Linked DNA regions of Homo sapiens: all the other regions are linked to region 1. The links are contacts of gene promoters, found by promoter capture Hi-C in human tissues and cell types (Jung and others, 2019). All regions are on one chromosome and are shown on one strand. The core of a region is centred on a gene start or on the middle of the fragment in contact, and the rest is flanking DNA. Distances in the headings are between cores, read along the strand shown. Region 1 holds the start of NDN (necdin, MAGE family member). Region 2 overlaps UBE3A (ubiquitin protein ligase E3A). Region 3 overlaps SNHG14 (small nucleolar RNA host gene 14). Region 4 has its middle 72 kb from the start of NPAP1.

The links. The method cuts DNA at HindIII sites, captures the fragments that hold promoters and counts their contacts. A contact is called where the count stands out against the background at its distance.
Region 2: a contact is called between a fragment that was not itself captured here and the fragment with the promoter of NDN in region 1, in 1 of the 25 tissues and cell types used here (dorsolateral prefrontal cortex).
Region 3: a contact is called between a fragment that was not itself captured here and the fragment with the promoter of NDN in region 1, in 2 of the 25 tissues and cell types used here (heart left ventricle and mesendoderm cells).
Region 4: a fragment that was not itself captured here is called in contact with the fragment with the promoter of NDN in region 1 in 1 of the 25 tissues and cell types used here (mesenchymal stem cells).

Annotation. Positions count from the first base shown.
Region 1 is chr15:23,685,712-23,688,673 of GRCh38, forward strand. It overlaps NDN (necdin, MAGE family member), which reads right to left and starts at 1,594. Exons shown (of 1, transcript NM_002487.3): 1 at 1-1,594. The coding sequence starts at 1,506. The coding sequence ends at 541. The HindIII fragment of the contact is 8,447 bases long and covers 1-2,962 here.
Region 2 is chr15:25,433,487-25,436,448 of GRCh38, forward strand. The region is part of intron 1 of UBE3A (ubiquitin protein ligase E3A); the gene reads right to left. Among named protein-coding and RNA genes, the nearest start is that of UBE3A, 4.1 kb to the right of the region's middle. The HindIII fragment of the contact is 3,349 bases long and covers 1-2,962 here.
Region 3 is chr15:25,159,673-25,162,634 of GRCh38, forward strand. All of the region lies in intron 61 of SNHG14 (small nucleolar RNA host gene 14), which reads left to right. Among named protein-coding and RNA genes, the nearest start is that of SNORD115-1, 9.6 kb to the right of the region's middle. The HindIII fragment of the contact is 4,579 bases long and covers 1-2,962 here.
Region 4 is chr15:24,745,897-24,748,858 of GRCh38, forward strand. No RefSeq gene overlaps it. Among named protein-coding and RNA genes, the nearest start is that of NPAP1, 72 kb to the left of the region's middle. The HindIII fragment of the contact is 8,881 bases long and covers 1-2,962 here.

The sequences.
Region 1 (2,962 bases), core at 344-2,843:
TAAAGTTGACTCACGGTGGGGTTGTATATGTGTTTAGTAAAGTGTGCCAAGTGCTCACACTGAGACCAGTCCAGTTCAAATTAGTGTACTCCACGAGGGTGTTTTCTGTGCCCAGCAAGGTCATGAAGGGCCTTGACTTTTCTTGGTTAGGCCGGCTTTGCTGGTGACTTCTTCCAAACTCTGCAGGAGCAGTCTACCCCAACACACATCATCAGTCCCATATAAAAGAATAAGATGGAAACTTTCTCAATGTATTTCATCAGTTTAGCACATCTCTGGTACAAAAATCCAAGAAAGGTAGCACAAAAGCGAAAGCACCAACCAAGCTTACATATAAACAAACATGCATACATCCTAAATACTACACAATAGTACCCAAATGAATACAACATTGCATTAAAGGTATAAAAGCACTGTACTGAAAACTTAAAAGTTACACGTGAATACTGCACTGTAAATCCTGAATACTATAATGACCCACCCCCACCCTTCCACAGCCCTGGTGAGGGTCAGAAACCATTCATCTGCCTCCAGACTTTGCTAGTCCTCAGAGACACTGCTGCGAGGGTAGTGGGCAGTGGGATTAGCCTCCCGCAGAGCTCTGGCCTCCTCCAGAGCTTCTCTGTATCGGGAGGGCCAGGCCTGGGGGTCTTTCTTAAAGACCCTGGCCAGGAACTCCATGATTTGCATCTTGGTGATTTCGCGGCTGGCCCGGGAGCCCCAAAAGAACTCGTATTCGGGCGGCTCCACGTATGGGACGCGCTGGTACTTCAGGTAATTCATTTGGACGAACTCCTCAGTGATGAGCTTCCGCACGTCCCCGAAGGTGGAGTGCTTCTTCCAGGGCCGCAGCCCCAGGATGCGCAGCACGTTCCAGACGGCGCTCTCTCTGGCGCCGCGGCCCTTCACGTAGATGAGGCTCAGGATCATGAGCAGGAGGCCTGTCATGGGCATGCGGTTGCTCAGCGCCACCCTGTCCAGCTCCTCGGGCTCCAGCGCTTTGACCAGCGCAAACTCCATGGTGTGCAGGCTGGTTAGCCTCAGGTGCAGCCCGAACACCCGGGCGAGGATGAGGCTGGTGCGCCGGAGGATGCTCCTGCACCACTTCTTGTAGCTGCCGATGACATCTTTCACCATGTCTGGAAACCAGATGATCATCTTCTTCTGGTCCTTGACCAGCACGTACCACATGAGCTCGTGCGCCTTCTGCACCAGCTGCGCCGGGGCTGGCGGTGCCGGGCCCGGCTGGGCCGCGCTCGGGGCCTGGTGGGCGCGGCCCTCCTCCGCAGCCTGCTGCAGGGCCTTCGGGTCGCCCTCGTCGTTCGGGGCCTGGGGAGGCGGCGCGGCCTGCGGAGCGGCCGTCGGGCCTAGAGGAGGGCTCTGCGGCTCTGCCAGGGTCGCGGACGGAGGAACCCCCTCCGAAACCCCAGGGCTGCTGTGCACCTCGGAGTTGGGGGCCTCGGCTGCAAAGTTAGGGTCGCTCAGATCCTTACTTTGTTCTGACATGTCTGCGCCGTCTGGCAAGGGCAGGGCCTCTGCGTCCAGGAGCTCTTCGAGCCTGCGCTCCCTCCGCGGATTCCTGGAGAGGAAGTGCGCGTTGCTGCGCGCGGCGCCTTCCGCAGCGACGGGCAGGGCGGGGCGGCGGCGGGACGCGGCACTGCGCCTGCGCGACCGCGGCCTTGGCCAGCGGCTGGGGGCGGGCGGGGCAGCGCGGGGCCCCGACGGGGAGGGTCCATGGCGAGGCTTCACCTGCTGGGAGAGCGATCCCGGGGTTTCCTGTTTGGGCTGAGAAGATCTAGGGCAGGAGAGAAGTGAGATGGATGCGTACTGGAGAAGGGGCCAGTTTAAGGGAAAGATACCTTAAGTTTTTGGGATGTTGGGGTCAAGTTTCTTGGGAAACGCTTACCTGGGTATATCCAGAATTAAGTTAAATATGAGAGTCCCAGAGAAAGGTCTGGGCGGCTTTGTAAACATGAGCTTTATGCGAACCAGTGAGAGGAACAGTCGGGCTTGTCCAAGAAAATGTGTAAACTGTAAAGTGGATGTCTGAGGTTGGAATCCTGAGAAATTCCAATAAAAAATGATCGACTCCCTACCAAATCAGATAGGCTATAAGAAAAGGGGAAATGCAGTGTGTCGTTAACGTAATTTCCTATCAACCCATGTGAACTATGAACTTTTTAAGTAGGCAGTGGACTTAGAGCATCATTAATGCTTTAACGGGCATAAATTTGGGTTTTACACTTCCTTTGGGTAACTTTGATTCCATTTTATTTTTTTCCATACTTAGTCCATAGCAGAAGGATTGCTATATCTTTTAGCACAAACTTGTATGATAATGTCTTTTCCCTCTGCCCAGCACCCTCATTCTTCAATTCACCTTCTCTCAGGACCCTCTCTGAAGCTACTGAGTCCTCCACGTTGGAAGCCACACCCAAGTCTTTCCTGAGATTTAAAAAAAAAATAGGTCCCATGGGTAATATCTGGTAGTGTCTCTGAGATGACCAAAGGGTAGCAGGGGAAACATAGGTAACCCTGTTTTCCAGGTATGGAAAACAGATTCCCAGTGGGCAAAGACAAAACTGTCACTCCTACAGGCTCTCCATGAAAAAAAGGGTCATTGCCTGAGCATCTGAAACCAGGGACCTTAATGCTGCTTCAGCATCCTTGGTCTGGGCTGATGTGGTCCTTCAGCTCTTCCCGGGTTTCTTCTCATCAGCAGCTTCTTAAATATGCTGTCTTGAATCTAGTTATTGCCACTCGAAGCCAAAAGCATATTTAAAAATTGTCTTGACATGTCTAGAGTCCTCACTGTGAGTATGTATCTTTTCCCACTTTATTTTTCCTCAAGCAGGTTGATGTTGAAAGGTTTTCTGTGCTTTCTCTCTTTGGGTTTGCACGCACATAACACTTTTGGCAGAGCCATTACCACACCAGTCCCTCCAACAGGACTCTTAAGCTT
Region 2 (2,962 bases), core at 202-2,701, 1.7 Mb after region 1:
CTAAAAAGCTCTTAATCTACATTTTCAAGAATGATCACGTTTGAAAAGCATACTCTTTTAAAACAAAGCAACTATCACTTTCATTTGACAAAAGAAGGAACGAAGGCTTCAAAAGCTAAATAACCTGCTCATGACCATTACGAAGCTAGTTAAAACAACCTCAAGACCAAAAGACAGTGCTCATTCCATTTCAATGACTCTGATGCACTTAAAATTTTATAAATAATTTTTAGGGATATCAGTCATAAGGCTTAGAATCAAATAGTAACGACTCATGTACAAAGACCAGTATTTTTTAAAAATGCTCAGCTGGGCATGGTAGCTCACACCTGTAATCCTAGCACCTTGGGAGGCCAAGCCGCTTGAGACCAGGAGTTTGAAACCAACCTGAACACGGCAAGACCCCATCTCCACAAAAAAATTAAAAAATAAAAAAATTAGCCAGGCATGGTGGCATATGCTAATCCCACCTACTCAGGAGGGTGAGATGGGAGGATCACTCCAGCCTGAGACTGCAATGAGTTATGACAGCACCACTGCACTCCAACTTGGGCAACACAGCGAGACCCTGTCTCTAAACAAATAAACAATAAGTAAAATAAACAAAAAGAAAATGCTAACTTTACTTCACTCTCAGATAGGCCTAATAATTAATAAGCTTCTTTTTGAATTATTATCCATAATGGCATTTACCTGTTATTGATAACTCAGATCAAAGCACTACTAAGCAACATTTTTGATAGCAAATGAAAACAAAAGCTGGCAAAGAAACTGTGTATTAATAAGTCATTTGATTAAAAAAAAGGACTTGGCCAGGTATTGTGGCTCATGCCTGTAATCCCAACACACTGGGAAGCTAAAGTAAAAGCTGAGGAGTTCAAGACCAGCCTGGGCAACACAGTGAGACCCCCATCTCTATAAAACAAAAATTTTTAATATTATCTTTTTACAAAGGACTTATTTATATGGCATCTTCAAGTATTTCAAACATTTCGTGTTTGGATTATGGAATATGTCTCCAGAAGAATTAACACTATTTCTATTTAAGGTAATTTTACATCATTTCCTTTATTAGAAGAAATAACAGATCTGCAGATGGCATTTTGTGAAGGCTGCCTTCTATTAATAGTGTACAAAACACTCATATGTCTCCAAAAAGGTGGGTGAGTAATCACAAAGCAAGTATAACTATTCATCCCAAAAGGTAGGACAGAACATGTGCCAATGTGTGCAGAGTCCTGAACTAGAGACATGGACTCTGGTTCTGGTTCTGACACCTGGGTGACTTTAAGAAAATCATTTTAAAGCTTTGCACTCCAATTTCCTCTTGTATAAAATGACTGGAGCAGCTGACCTCATAGACAATCCTACTCAGGTAGCATCTATCCATGTACTGCCAGAAGACAGAATGATAATCATGCCCCCCAAAATTAGAGTATTTGAAGACAACTGCCGGAGTAAAAATTTTAAATTCTATATACATACACACACACACACACACACACACACACACACACACACACACACACACACAAATACTAATACACTACGTGCCAGATACTGGGGTGGTGGGCTGGGACCAAGGAATGAAGTAATGCATGTGCCAGAGGGTTGAACTTTTTAAAAGGAGTAAAAAAGTAAATCTTTACAGTAGCAGCTGGTGGGTAGGAGGTATTGAGTCCATAGAACTGCTCTTAGATTGGAAGGGCATGGGAAAATGAAGTTCCATTATGTGATAGGGTTTTACACACACACACACACACACACACACACAAATGTGAGAAAGTCACTCAACTATAAGCATTCAAAAAAGACAGACATCTTTCTTGTCTTTGTGGGTCCTGTACTTAGCTCAGCTCATAGAAGCCACAGGAGGAACCTAATAAATGTTAGTTGATCATTTACTGATTTACCAATAACCAATTCATGCCTGCTCTAGTGCTGTGGTCTGAATGTGTCCCCCAAAATTCATGTTGAAAGCCTAACCTCCAAGGTGATAGTATTAAGAGGTGGGGCCTTTGGGAAGCTTTGCCATCATTAATGGAATTAATGCCTCTATAAAAGAGGCCCTATAGAGCCCCGTCTACTCTTCTACTACATGAGGTAATGGTGAAAAGACAGCTAGCTATCTATGAACAAGGGAAGAGGGCCCTCACTAAGATGTCAAATTTGTTGGTACCTTGATCTTGGACTTCTCAGCCCCCAGAACCGTGAGAAATAAACTTCTGTTGTTTATAAGCCATGCTGTCTGTGGTGTTTTGTAATAGCAGCCAGAACAGACTAAGACATCTAGTAACACATTCTCTGGTAAACACTAGGAATTCCTGGCCTTAAAAAGTTCATAGCTAATGAGAAAAGAAATAAACAACATAAAGGATAACATGCTGTAGTCCACTACATACAAGGTGCTTCCAGACCATTCAGAAAAACTGGATAGGAAGATTTCTAAGGTAATACTTATTGAGTGCCTACGTGTTAGGCGTTTTACATACTTTAAGCCTCACAACTCTGGGGAAGTTTCACCAACCCATTTTACAGATGACAAAACTGTGGCTTACCAAGATTAATAAGGCCAGAATTAAAATTAGGGTCTAATTCCAAAGATATTACCACTATACATACCAAGATGTCTTGTTACTACATTTTATCCTTACATTTGGCAGTGAGGGGAAAACTCAAAAAGCAGTCAAAAAACTTTTGTCCTGAACCAACATAAAAAGAGCACCTAAGACTTCATCCAGTATTTTACCGAAAGATCACTTCTAAAAGTTTGTCTTCACCCCGATCTAAAAATTAGAAAACTAATTTTCTTTCAGCAGCTGCATATGTACATAATGTAATGTTTCTACATTTAGACCTACACAATTATAAGTCTAAACAAAATATGTGTAACATGATTGGAGAACATAACTAGCAGTCATTTAAGAAAATGGACATTTGGAAACATCATTTCAAGAGCTTG
Region 3 (2,962 bases), core at 182-2,681, 1.5 Mb after region 1:
CAGGACCCAAAATACTAATAATCCATATGCCTTTTTTTCCAGCTGAAATTAGCTGTCTTAAGAGTTGTTTTTCAGTGCTCTGAGGATATCCACAAATATATCCCAAGGCACTCTGAAGTGTGTTTTCAATCTTTGGCCCTGCACACTGGGGATGCCCACTGGATGTTGCATGGAGTGTTGCCTCCAGTTGACTTTGATAGACACAATAAACACCACGTGAGAGCCCCCTCATGAAGGAGGGCTGAGGACTTGGAGTCCAATTCTCCACCTCCCCTGACAGATAGGCTATTCAATGCCTTGGGAATCCGACATGAAGGACTGCTTATAGCAGTCCTTGAAAACTTTCTACAGAATGTGAACTGGGAGAAGCTAAATGCTGTACTCACAAGCTGGGTGACTTCTCCATTGATTTTTACCATAGCTCACTGAAACATTTTCTAAATTAACAGGTATAAATTCACAGACAGATCAGAATAGATCCTTGGTCCTTTCCATTTTTCTGGCACTTTTGTTGCCAGGAATTCAAATACAACTAAGAGAAAAAGTGGGTAGCTAGCAAGAACAGATAGTTTCTCAAATATTAGTGGCAGTAACCCAACTTTGAGAAAATATGGAGAAAGAGAAGAAAAAACCCTTAAGACTGCAGTGTTAGCTGCCCAGTTACAATTATTCACAAAGTGAGCAAATACTTATTTGGGCCACCAATAAATAAGAGGGCACAAGCTAACGGGAAATTAATACGTCACTCATGTAAAAAGTCAACACATTAGAAAAAGGAATCTTGGATGAGATTGAGAAAGATGCAAGGGATAAAACCTGACAAGCTTTACAACCTCCTTGAGGAGGTCTTCCCTACTCTGTAAAATCAGACAGAAAATCATTGGCAAATGGAGCAAAGCATGGGCAAAACTGATATAATGAGGAAACAGAGCTGGGAAAGGATAAATTTATGTGTCTGTTTCTGTTTCCTATCTTTTAATCCTTTTTTACCCTTTCTTCTGGATACTGGAGCAACGTATTCTGCAATTTCTACAGGCCTTTTCTGTTTTATCCTAAACTAGGAAAATATCCAGATATAAGTATTTCTGGACTATCTGCTACCTCTTCTTTCTCCTCTGAGGTTTTCATGCAAATAGGCGAGGTCCTATTTGCATAAAATAGGAAGAATATGCCTTGTCTCCTAATATGCCCAATAATCTTTTAAGAAAGGGCCTGCTGTGTAAACCAAGGGCTATGATCTTCTGTACTCTGAAGAGAGTGCTTTTGGAGCTTCTGGGATGCAAGGTATCTACATTGCTAAATATGTGCTTTCTGAAACAAAAGATGGCTGTGGGAGAGTAGGAGTCTCACTCAATGCTGGAGAAGCACTCCCAAGTTACAGAAAATAAACCCATATCTATGAGTCCTAGGAACAAATGATAAAGATTTAACAAAAGAGATCAATACCATTGTTGTAACTTACAACAGAGAAAAACCTTGGCCATGTATAGAACATTTTCTCTATTTTTACCTCAAATATGATGTAATTAGAAAAATTTTAAAAAACGTGGCATAGTTAAAAAAAAATGGCACATTCACTTCATAATGCTTCCATATTGCCTGTGGGAAAGTTAGGAAAACTTGACAGGGAAGGTCAAACTGTTTATAGATTTATGCATGATCTTAGAGAAACAAGTTGTGATTCCTCTGACACTTGTAATTCCCAGCCTTGCCACTGTTTTAATATCTGTTCCTGAGTTATCTAAGTATTTTTCTGTCATGGATTTATGTTCAATGTTTTGTTCTCCATGTTTAGCTGGGGAGTCGAGGTTCCTGTTTGAGTTTACCTGTGGAGCGGGAGGCTTTCAATATTTGTGGCAACGGATCTTCCTGGAATTCAGAGAGTCACCTACTCCATTCTCTGGGCATTTATAAGAAAATATAAAGAATATTCCTCACATTAGGATTCCATACTAATTGTTATTGATAGCTGCTAATAACTTACATGCTAGTAAAGAAGACATTTTAGCTTTACTAAATTTCTTAGACTCCCAGGACGTAAAACCTCGCTAGCTAAGTTGCAATATTACCAACTGAAGTAAAATATTTGGGATCTGTGTTATTGGCAGATGGAAGGTGGTTGCATCTTGAAGTCAGCCTAATATACAAATGAAACAACATGCCAAAAAAAAACTTCACCGATTTTGAGGATTAATTGTAGATCTTTGCGTTTTATGAAAAGGCTAAGCCTCTCACTGAGATGTTACATGAAACATCACTAGAACTCTTTATTAAAGTCAAAATAAGGCTGAAGAAGTCTTTTATGCCCTTAAAATAGCTGCTATTTCTTCACTTGTATTACTTTTTTAACCTTGTTAAAAAAGGAGTTCTACCTTTTCTGTCTTGAGATTAAGGGTTACTCCAAAATTAGGCCTTGATTATAGGCACATTGCTTACTTTCCCAGGTTCTTGTATTTTGTCTCTCTGGAAATGCGATGATATTTATAAGGTACAGTGGCAACCACTCCCCTGATTAAAAAGGCTCATTCAGTCCTTGACTCTGAGAAATTTAACTTACTTACAGGTACTTCATGTTGTTACTGCTATTTTACAAGTTCATAAGACACAACACTTGTCAGTATGCTGTCAAACGAGCTAAGAACAAGTCTTATTGTGTGATCCTAATGCTATTCTAGGAAGGTGTAACCTTTTGACAGCTATTCTGTGGCCAGATCTTGACAGAATAAGTTGAACTTGACTGTCTCAGAGTGATTGAGGAAGACACTGGAGCATGGTCTAATTTTTGTAATATTCCTATTCCCAATGTTGACTGAATATTCATGAATATATTCTGTGTGAAAGACCCACAAAGGAATATAAAAGCATGTTCTACGGTAATCAACCCTCATGAAGCTTAGAGGCTTCTGTTTTTCGAAACATAAAATCAGCCCAAGTGGCAGAATTGTAGTTATTATACCAGCTG
Region 4 (2,962 bases), core at 225-2,724, 1.1 Mb after region 1:
CTCTCATTCCCTAACATTCCCTAATTTAAAGTATTCATAGTCATTTTTCATAATATCTTACTAATTATTTTTTCAAGCATCACAATTTCCTAATAAAATGAAAAATATCACTTTTATTAGGAAAGACAGGTGTTACATACTCTCTGTTATAGTGTTTTCCAGAAATTTTCTATAAAATACCTATGGTTGAAAAGGAGAATTACTTGGACTTTTCTGAGAGCCAAAAGGTAAAATTTGCTAAGAGCCTCAGGCTTATAAAAACAGTGAATGTTTGTATGACTTAGTCTGTTGTGATTGTGAAAGGTTAAAAAGGCATTGGTTTGTGTAGATAAAACACTGAGACTCATTTTTAAAGCAAAGGCCAGCCACAATGTTACTCACAATGTTACTGTGCATGTATGAACATCACATTGTTTGCTTTTTCCTTGACCCAAAAGCTATAAACTTTGGCAGGAGACTTTAATTCCTTCCACCTTACTTTCACAAAGGTAAACATGGCATTTTTGTACAAGTGAACCATAAGATAGATATGTATACTTTTCTTGTAATTTGATAAGTGATTACTAAAATTACTTTCAATGAAATGAAAAATGCCACTAAGGAAAACTGTACATACATCTCCAGGTGGAATATATTTTTGTAATAGGTTCTCTTGGAAAGAAAATTGAAACCTTTATTTATCACCTAACAAAGTATTTTTGAAAGTTCTCATGCTTGTGTTTTTAGAATTTTATTTTTGTTGATTCAGTCAATAATTTTCTCCATTTTCTATTGCTTAAATGTACATTCATGTCCATTGTTTTTTAGGCTCAGACTTTGACAGTCCTCTGATATACTTTATATGTAAATAGATGGCTGAGTGTTCTGGCTGATGAACATGGGTTACTTAACCAGAGTTAAGCGAGGACTTTCTCACCTGAAACCACCAAGAGACACAAAAGCCAGAAAAGGACAGAAATTAATTCAAGGGTCAACAAATAGAGTCGGCTTTCTTTAAGACCTGAAGTGTAGAAGTCTAGGTTGAACCCTAGGTTGATTACGTTGAAGACTACATTCTCCTGTGAAGCAAGCATTCCTAAAGGGTAAGGCTATGAGACACAATAGTGCATGCTGGCTATGCAAGTGATGAGATGGCCAAGCTAACAGTCCAAAAACTATCCTGGGGAAGGGGCAGTCATTTGTTCAAGATTCCTGAAATGTGAGGAAGCAACAAAGAGCAGACACACTTTATGGGTAATTTTACTCCAAATTAATAGATGGGCACTTGTTTTGTATGCTGTTTTACAAACTGCCTTCGTTTTCTTATGAATATGCCATTAGGATTTGTGAAATGGGTATCATGACGGTTTAGATTTGCATTTCATCGAGGACTAATATTGTTGAGCATCTTTGCATTGTACATTTGTATAGCTTCTATGGAAAAATGTCTATTCATAGAATTTGTCCACTTTTAACTAGAATGTTTTTCTTTATATCTTTGACTTATAAGAATATTTTACAGATTATGTACAATAGACCCTATCAGCTACATGATTTGTAAATATTTTCTCCTATTGTTACAGGATTCCTTCAGTGCTGCTTTGCCAGCCGGGAATCTCTGCAGCCATCGCCACCTCTGCCCGGGTCTCATTCAGACCCACTGGGTTCGCTCTGCCCACTCAGCCCGGCACGCTGTGCTCTGCTCTCGCCCCAGCCCAGATCCCACGGCCCCTGTGGCTCCCCACTCAGCCTGCAGCTGGACTGGGAGTGCCATAAGTGAATTCCGGTTGGGGGCCAGCATCCAGACAAGGGGAATGTGGTGGCACCTGAAAACGGAGGTGACAGCAGTTGCAAAGCCCCAAGGGGTGTTACAGCTCTTGCTTGGGGAGCCCTGAGGTCTGAGCCCCACAGGAATGTTGCAGCTCTTCACTCCTGTAGCTCATAGCTCAGTGAGCTGCGGCATATTACAGCTCTCTTTCTCCTATAGTCCAACCAGCAGGAGCATGTTACCAGCCCTTTGATTCCCGTTATTTCCAGCTTGGTGAGCAGAAGGGAGTGGCACTCAGTGGCTGTTTCTCTCGGTGAGCAGAAGGAAGTGTTACAGCTCATTTTAATCCCACCATTCAGTGAGTTCCAGGTTCTTGTCCCACGACCAGGAGGAATGAGTAACGTGGACACTGGAGAGTGAACAAGGCAGAGAATAATTTTATTGAACAACAGAAAAGCTCTCAACAACGAGACAGGACCCAAAGTGGGTAGCCGACTGTGAGGCTGAGTCCGGGAGTTTTTATGGGTTTGGAATGAGGAGGTGCAGGCTGTAGGTAGTCTTGGGAAAGGCAACATTTGATTGGTTAAAAAGCATTATTCCAAAAAACCAATCAGTAAAGAGTGGGCAAGCATGAATAGAAGTTCTCACTCTGGTCCATGGACTCTCTCCAGAACTGGTAGTTTGGTTTTCAGGCTTCAGACTGTCCTTGGCTTGAAGGTCAATTTTCACCAGAGAACCCATCCCCGTCTGCCTAGGAATTTGTCTGCCTCCTGTGGCTATCACTATTATTTGGGTGGTCTTGATAGTGTAGTTTGAATAACGAAAGTTTTAAATTCTGTTGAAGTTCAATTTATTCTTCCTGCTTCTATCACTTCTATTTTGTGTGATAACTTAGACTGTATTATTTGACCTAAGGCCACAAAAGCAGATACATATATTGTCAATCACAGGTTTCATAGTATTAGTGATGGCAGCAGTGGGCCATCCGGAGCAGCTGCTGTTGTCATGCTGGCCACTGTGGGGAGGGCACAGGAGGAGGCAGAGCTGGGTCTGGGGTGGTGCTGCGCTCCACAGAGCTGGCAGGAGCCAGGGACAAGTAGGAGTCCCCAGAGAAGCCCTGGGGGCCATCATGATTGGGATGGACCAAGTTGCCCACTGGTCGGGGAGCAGCGCGGTCAGGCATGAAAGGGTATGCAAAGAGGGTCCCAGTGAGAA